2 separate regions of the Homo sapiens genome follow, and region 1 is linked to region 2. The links are contacts of gene promoters, found by promoter capture Hi-C in blood cells and fetal thymus (Javierre and others, 2016). All regions are on one chromosome and are shown on one strand. The core of a region is centred on a gene start or on the middle of the fragment in contact, and the rest is flanking DNA. Distances in the headings are between cores, read along the strand shown.

Region 1 (4,075 bases), core at 818-3,317, 520 kb before region 2:
GGTGTTGTACACGCACAAAAGGGAGGCATCTGACCAGACTGAGGGATCGGGGGGAACTTCTTAGAGGTGGCATCTGAACCAATTATGCAAATAAGTCCACTCAGTGAAGAAGGGGGCAGAACTTTTTGAGCAGAAGGAACAGTAAGTGGAAAGGCACAAAGGAAGAATGAACATCCAGTGTAGTGAAACTGAAGGCAGCTGCATTTTGGTGGGGCTGGTGAGTGAAGCTGCTCTCCCTCTCCAGGCATTGATTTCTTCAGGTGTCAACTGGGGAGATGGACATGGTCATCTCTGAGAGCCAATACAGTTCAAGTACTGTCCCAAATCTGTAACCGATTATTAGAAACTGGGAAGAGTGACATGGTCATCTCTGAGAGCCAGTCCAGTTCAAACACTGTCCCAAATCTGTAACTGATTATTACGAACTGGGAAGTGACATGGTCATCTCTGAGAGCCAGTCCAGTTCAAACACTGTTCCAAATCTGTAACTGATTGTTACGGACTCCTGTTGAGGAAGAAGAAGGTAAAAAACCCTGCATCCAAGATGAGCCCCCACTTCCACGAAGCTCCCTTCCAGTCAGTTTCATCATTGGCTCTACTGCTCTGATGGATTTTTCAGAACGTTCTGTTTTCCCCCTGTCTTTTTCTAGGCTGTTCTTGCTGGAGATTTAATTCTTTCTGCAGCATCTATAGCTCTGGCACGAATTGGAAATACAACTGTTATATCTATTTTAACCCAAGTTATTGAAGATTTGGTGCGTGGTACGTTGATTCTGATTTTTCTTCTTTGTTATTCAACCCTGGTGTTTAGCCAGGCAATAAAGCCACCTCTCAAATGACTCCTTTCCTTCTTTATAGGTGAATTTCTTCAGCTCGGGTCAAAAGAAAATGAGAATGAAAGATTTGCACACTACCTTGAGAAGACATTCAAGAAGACCGCCAGCCTGATAGCCAACAGTTGTAAAGCAGTATGTACGTTCTGTCTTTCTTCAAGTTAAAGCCTCATAGCTCTTTTTTGGGAGCTAATTTTCCTAGAAAATATTTCGGTGAAGAATCTTAAAATAGTACCCAAAAATCCCAAGAGGTTAATGAGGAAAAGAATGACATCCCCAAACAATAGAGGACTTCTGCTGTGTTTTCATTTTTGCCATCTTCTTTTGGTATGCAGGCGTTGACTTTTCATCTTTTCTTCCCAAGAATTCAATCAAAATAAGCTTTCCCGCACCTTCCCCAATCTGATTGCCAAACTGTATCATTTTGAACAATTTATCATAATTTCTCTAATGATTGATATCACACACACTCTTTCTGACACTTCACCTTTTAGAAATGAAGTGCTCTGTTCTTTAATATAATATTTACTCAGGAAAAGATATCTGTTAGATTGTACTAGCATTCTATGAACTTTTTTTTGTTTTTTTGTTTTTTGTGTTTTTTTGAGACAGAGTCTTTTGCTGTGTGGCCCAGGCTACAAAGCAGTGGTGTGATCTTGGCTCACTACAACCTCCACCTCCCAGGTTCAGGCAATTCTCCTGCCTCAGCTTCCCTAGTAGCTGGGACCACAGGTGTGCGCCATCACACCCAGCTAATTTTTGTATTTTTCATAGGGATGGGGGTTTGCCATGTTGGCCGGGCTGGTCTCAAACTCCTGCCCTCAAGTGATCCACCCACCTTGGCCCTGCAAAGTACTGGGATTACAGGCATGAGCCATTGCACCTGGCCAATACATTGCACCTGGCCAATCCTTCTAATATTTTTACATGAAATATAAACAAGTCCTATTTCTTCAGAGTACAAATTGAGTATAAGCCATAACTGTTTTTCCCCTTGCTTTCTCCCTCCCTCCGCTGTGCATACACATGTATACATTTTTTTTTTAATGAGTAATACCTTTAATCCGTAGACAAATGTGTGGTATTCATCGTTAGTCCAAGAATGAAAAGCAGTCTCTCCATAGAATTGTTTATCTGCCCATCTCTAAGCCTGACAGATACACAGAGACAAAACCTGGACAAATGACATTCCCATGTAATTACAGCCACAAAATAAGGAAGACCTGTAAGGGTCGCATGTCAATTGCTGTCATGATAGACTCCTAACATAATTAACAGGTAAAGAGAGCTTTTGCTCAGACCTCTCAGATGAAAAAGTCTCTTGCTGTTAGTGTCTCTGTTTTGAAAAGTGTCAAGAAATGTATAATTGCAAGGCAGAAAAGAATGAGGACAATCTTTTCTTCCTAAAAAGACCTAATAGAAACTTTAAGGAATGTGAATTATGTAGAACATGCTAGCCACAGTCTCGACCACTTTTGTCTTTTTATTAAAAGGGCTATTATGTTTTTATTTCCAAGAAATTATGTGGGTTTTTTTTTTAAAGTGAGATGGAAGAAAGTATAGACACGAGATGCTAAATAAGAGAATAGCCTATTTTAAGTGGGTGCTCTAACACTTTTACAGTAATCCTTTACATATTATCATGCCCTTGATGGCCCAACTCTCCCTGAAGGTCAGGATCCATCCTCTTAACACATTAGGGTGCCTTAATATTACTTACTAATATTTATCCTTAAGAGGATGTGTTAAGTGAGGCTCATTGATAATTTCACAATTTGAGACTGCAAACTTAGAAGCATTAGCATGGTCAGGCAAGGTGGCTCACACCTGTAATCCCAGCATTTAGGGAGACTGAGGCGGAAGGTTTGCTTGTGACCAGAAGTTCAAGACCAACCTAGGCAACATAGCAAGATCCCCATCTCTACTTAAAAATAATGTTTAAAAAATAAAGTCTTAGAAGCATTAGTAGTAGTGAGACTATTGGAATTGGAAACACCAAGACTTACTGTCTGCACCATGCAGACATCCTGCAGGCACGGGGTGGGGCGGCACCAAATTGGAGCTAGCACAGAAATTCACTCAGTGATGGAAGCTTACAAAGGGTCCAAAGAAATGGACCTGAGTCATGATAGAGAGGTTTCCTTGTGGTCACTGTTTTCTGTTTAAGAAGCCAAAGATAATGCACAGGAATTCTTTTATAAAGATATGCACCTCATTCTTCAAAGATTAGCAGCTGAACGAACAGTGAACATGTTAACGTGGCTGGACCCTTATTAAAAATGAAATGTTTCATGCTGCCCACTAGGGGGCATGCTGGCATCGTCCCAGCACTACCTCCTTTTCATGTGGTTTATTCCTAAACTCCACAGCTCTTAGAATAATAAAGCAAAATGATAGTGTGAGCTATTTGAATAAAAGTTTCTATATTTAAGTGCCTATGGGTGGAAATATTCCAGAGGTGTTATGGATTCAAAATGGCTATTTTTACGTACTCTTGGTATTTAAAATGCAAAGCCATGCGAGCTCCAAATAAATGCATGCAAAGCAAATTAGACACACCAAAAAGAGGGGAGGAGGAGAACTGAAAGAGCAGAATTATTACAGAAGAAGAACTAATGGGATTGCAAAATGTATTGAGAATTGGAGGGAAACTTACAAGCTGCATTCTACTAAGGATACCATTTCTTCATCTCCCTTCCTTTTTTTAGTGAAAATAATATTAAAATCTAAGAGAGGGCTGTCTAGGGGGATTGTTTTGTGATTGACTGATATTAAAATAGAATCCATTTTAGGCCGGGCACGGTGGCTCACACCTGTAATCCTAACACTTTAGGAGGCCGAGGCGAGTGGATCACTTTAGTCCAGGATTTCAAGACCAGCCTGGCCAACATGGCAAAACCCCGTCTGTACTAAAAATACAAAAATTAGCCGGGCGTGGTGGTGCACGCCTGTAATGCCAGCTACTTGGGAAGCTGAGGCAGGAGAACCGCTTGAACCCGGGAGGTGGAGGTTGCAGTGAGCCAAGATCACTCCACTGCATTCCAGCCTGGGCAATAGAGCGAGAGTCTCTCAAAAAAAAAACAAACAAACCAGAATTCATGTTATTATCAAAAGATGACTTATTTATTTACATACTTACTCACTTGCAAAATACATTTTGTACTCATGCAAAATACATTTTGTAGTTTACTAATAAAGACAGTGGCTTGTTTCCCAGGAAATCTGGTGGAAATGAGACCTGA
Region 2 (4,202 bases), core at 1,702-4,201:
CCTGATCTCAGGGCCTGCCTCGATCTCCCAAAGTGCTGGGATTACAGGTGTGAGCCACCACGCCTGGCCTGATAGGGTATCTTTTTTTTTAAATTTAATTTAATTTAATTTTATTTTATTTTTTCGGAGACGGAGTCTGGCTCTGTCACCCAGGCTGGGGTGTGATCTAGGCTCACTGCAAGCTCCGCCTCCCGGGTTCACGCCATTCTCCTGCCTCAGCCTCCCGAGTAGGTGGGACTACAGGCGCCCACGACCACGCCTGGCTAATTTTTTGTATTTTTAGTAGAGACGGGGTTTCACCGTATTAGCCAGGATGGTCTCAATCTCCTGACCTTGTGATCCGCCAGCCCCGTGATCAGCCCGCCTCAGCATCAGCCTGCCTCGGCCTCCCACAGTGCTGGGATTACAGGCGTGAGCCACCGCACCCGGCCGATAGGGTATGTTAACTTTGCAATACTTTCTTAAATGTTATGTACATACAAACTGTACTTTATACAGGTTTCCTAATAAGTGGTACATAATGTCAACAGGCATAGTGGCCTAGAGACATCAGTCTAGCTTTACCAATTTTCAAAAAACTATAAAAACGTGTGCTTTAGAAGAAAGTATAAACATACTACTTACATAAAACTCTTAGAATCATACCTTTCTATAAACACTAATAATTAGGGACTTAAAAAATCAATACCTAAATAAGTTCATGCTTTTTTTTATATTTTATTTGTTCTTTCTTATCTTTCAGTCCCCCATATGCCCTCCTCCAATAGAATGTTTGAAATTACAAAAGGTTCAGACAACACCATAGAAGGAAAGAAATTACAAATGGAACACTATTTTGTGTATATTTGTTTTTAAAAATTTCTGAATCTGCATTTAATGAATTTTTATTGAATGATGTGTTGAATATTTGTTACCTATAATTATTGAAATTATTGATAATTAATGATAATTAATGAAAACAGAAATCATGATATTAAATACTATAGTAACATATTATTGTTGTATTCAGTTAGTTTTACAACTGTGGCACAGTAGTAGCACCTATAATTACTTTCTAAATATGTTTATTGGGCCGGGCGCGGTGGCTCATGCCTGTAATCCCAGCACTTTGGGTGGCCCAGGAGGGCAGATCACCTGAGGTCGGGAGTTCAATACCAGCCTGACCAACATGGAGAAACCCCGTCTCTACTAAAAATACAAAATTAGCCGGGCATGGTGACGCACGGGTGTAATCCCAGCTGCTGGGTAAGCTGAGGCAGAAGAATCGCTTGAACCTGGGAGGTGGGGGTTGAGGTGAGCTGAGATTGTACCATTGCACTTCAGCCTGGGCAACAAGAGCGGAACTCCATCTCTAAAGAAATAAATATGTTTATTGTGAAATATAATTCATATAATGTAGAAAGATATGAATTGAAAAGTACGTCTTGCTTCTAAGACTCTGCATTTAGAACAGAGAAAAATATTTAATGGCCAAAAACTTCACATTGGTCTATGACATAAAATTACAAATTCAAAAAGCTCTGCAAATCGTGAACAGGGTTAATATGAAGAAAAACCACATCTACTAGTCAAATTGCTGAAAACCGAAGATAGAAAAGAAATCTAAAAAGCAGCCAGAGAAATAGCACATTAAATACAAGAAGGAGATCAGCCACTGGAATGACTTTTTTCTCACCAGCTGCAAAGAAGGTCCAATATGAGTATAAAAAAGAACATTATACAATGGAATAGCAAATAAAAAGGTAGAAAATATATATTTATTAAAATAGAAATTACTTCACAATTGACTATAGTTATTCTTTCTTTTCTGTCCCTTCATATCAAAAGTTTTCAAAACGCTTAAGCTGGTAGACCCTATGAGTGTGTGGCATTAGGCATCCCCAGCCTAGATTTTTGTTTGTTTGTTTGTTTGTTTGTTTGAGATGGAGTCTGGCTCTGTCGCCCAGGCTGGAGTGCAGTGGCACGATATCGGGTCACTGCAACCTCTGCCTCCCGGGTTCAAGCAATTTCCCTGTCTCAGCCTCCCGAGTAGCTGGGACTACAGGCGCACGCCACGAAGCCTGGCTAATTTTCGTATTTTTTAGTAGAGACGGGGTTTCACCATATTGGTCAGGCTGGTCTTGAACTCCTGACCTCAGGTGATCCATCCACCTCGGCCTCCCAAAGTGTTGGGATTACAGGCTTGAGCCACCGCGCCCGGCCCGGATTTATTTTTTAACACACCCAAATCCGCAGTCATTAAGTGACAAGACTTTTGTTTTCAACAATATGAAGTACTTAAAATCTGGATATTAGATTTTTCTCCGGTTTGGAAGATCAAAAGGTAATTAATTCATATTCAATAGCTCCCCTTCCACTACATGGCTCCTACACAGAAAAAAAGGCTAAATAAACAACACTAGAACCAGAAAGTGAAAGGGGGCTTTGGGGCTCTCTGCAGGAGGCGTCTACAGCCGGGGCCCAGCGCACGTACCATTCTTCGGCAAACTCTGGATCACCTTCACGGCCGCCTCAAACCTAGTCTCGTGCACGGATCTCGTGTCCGCCATCTCCAGCTGCCAGTGTTGGCCCCGGTCCCAAGGTCTGTCGGCGGGAATCAGGCAGCAGCAGCACCAGCTTTCCCAAGAGCCTGCATGAAACTGGAACATGGAGCGCAGCCGCGGATCAACATGCCCCAAAAGGAGGAGGCCCGGGAGCGAAGCGGGTCAGTTCCCCTTTGCCCTGCCCTATCCAGGCCACACAGATCGAAGCGGCCCGGCTCCTTCCTCCTCCCCCGGGGCGTGACTAAGGCCACGAATCCGGCCCGCGACGACAGCAAAACAACTCACCGAGAGGAAGAGCATGTCTAGCAGAAGACAGAGGGGGTCCGGGCATCGGTGGCCGCGGAGCCGCTCTCCCACCCTGGGGACCCTGGCGGAGCAGCCACACCCCCCATTCCGCCGGAGTCCGTCTGTCAGTCCGTGCCCTCCCCACAGCCCCGCCCCAGAGTCACCGGAGGACCCACTGGCGCCGCCGCCGCCGCAGCAGCAGTGCAGCAAACCCCACCCACCCGACCCGCCGCCGCGGCAAGGACGCGCGCGGTCCGTCTGTCCCCAGAGGAGGGTCCGGGAAGCGGGGAAAGGGGGCCACAGTCCCGGCTTGGTGCGGGGAGCACACTGTGCGCGCTTTTGTTCAGAAGGGGGAAACCGAGGCCGGACCGATGTGTCCGCTCTGGCAGCCGGGTGGACGAAGTGCGCGCTGGGGATGCGCGGTTGGGTTCTGCACCTGGGCCCAAAGCTGCACGCGACGGCACCGCTGGGCAACAAAAATGACTCTGCGGTCCCCAGCGCCTGCACTCTCCTAAGTTAAGGTTTGAGGAAGTTAAATGGGGCCTAAGCAAAGGGCTTTAAGTCGGGACAGGTTCTGTGAGAAACTCCAGTTCTGCCATTTAAATTATGTGACCTAGGGCAAGTCACTTAGCCTTTCCAGTGGCAATCGTGACACCCACTCTAAAGGGTAGATGGAGAAAAGCATTGGGGACCTTGGATGGAGGTGCTCAGCAGTCCCTGGCCCGCAGGTCTTCGACAGTTTTCGCTGCCCTGAGCCAAGAACGTCCGAGGAGCAGCCGAAGGAGAGAGGAGGTCGCCGGCTCCTAAACTGGGCTGGGACGGAGGGCAACTTCCCCTACACTACCCTTTCCACCCAGCCCCAGGGAGCCAGGCACCTCCAGCGGGATTTAATAGGAGACTGGGCATGGGGACGGCCGGGCACAGTGGCTCACGCCTGTAATCTCGATACTTTGAGAGGTCGAGTGGGGAGGATTGCTTGAGGCCAGGAGTTCAAGACGAGCCTGGCAACATGGCGATACCCTGGCTCTATTTAAGAAACCAATAATTAAAAAAAAAAATAAAAATAGGATACTGGGCGTAGAGGGCGGGGCCAATGAGGAGTCTTTACGGGTCGTCAACCCTAGAAAGGGGGTGCCCTGGGCCTTCAACTTACTAGCGCAACCCCCTGCGTCCTTAGGCATTTGGGAAGTGCCCCAGGCCGAACGTTGGTGGTGGGACTGACTAGGTTGTGGGGGGTGGAGTCCTGTAGCCCGGAAATCCCAAAGTCTCCCGGATGGAAGAGTCGTTTTTGTCAGTTAGGGGGATGGGTTAGGAGGGTTACTAGGAAAAATCTAGGCGCAGATCGTAAGTTACTCTTCCCTCTGAGCCGCGGCG

Evidence for each region. The method cuts DNA at HindIII sites, captures the fragments that hold promoters and counts their contacts. A CHiCAGO score of 5 or more calls a contact.
Region 1: a fragment that was not itself captured here is called in contact with the fragment with the promoter of ACBD5 in region 2 in 1 of 17 cell types (neutrophils); the score reaches 5.8 in neutrophils.

Annotation. Positions count from the first base shown.
Region 1 is chr10:26,723,156-26,727,230 of GRCh38, forward strand. It overlaps PDSS1 (decaprenyl diphosphate synthase subunit 1), which reads left to right. Exons shown (of 12, transcript NM_014317.5): 7 at 651-762; 8 at 859-968. Among named protein-coding and RNA genes, the nearest start is that of PDSS1, 27 kb to the left of the region's middle. The HindIII fragment of the contact is 1,711 bases long and covers 1,213-2,923 here.
Region 2 is chr10:27,237,846-27,242,047 of GRCh38, forward strand. It overlaps ACBD5 (acyl-CoA binding domain containing 5), which reads right to left and starts at 2,952. Exons shown (of 13, transcript NM_145698.5): 1 at 2,829-2,952; 2 at 2,474-2,639. The coding sequence starts at 2,843. RefSeq lists enhancers at 2,004-2,506, 2,464-2,723, 4,174-4,202 and a silencer at 2,844-2,953. The HindIII fragment of the contact is 10,066 bases long and covers 1-4,202 here.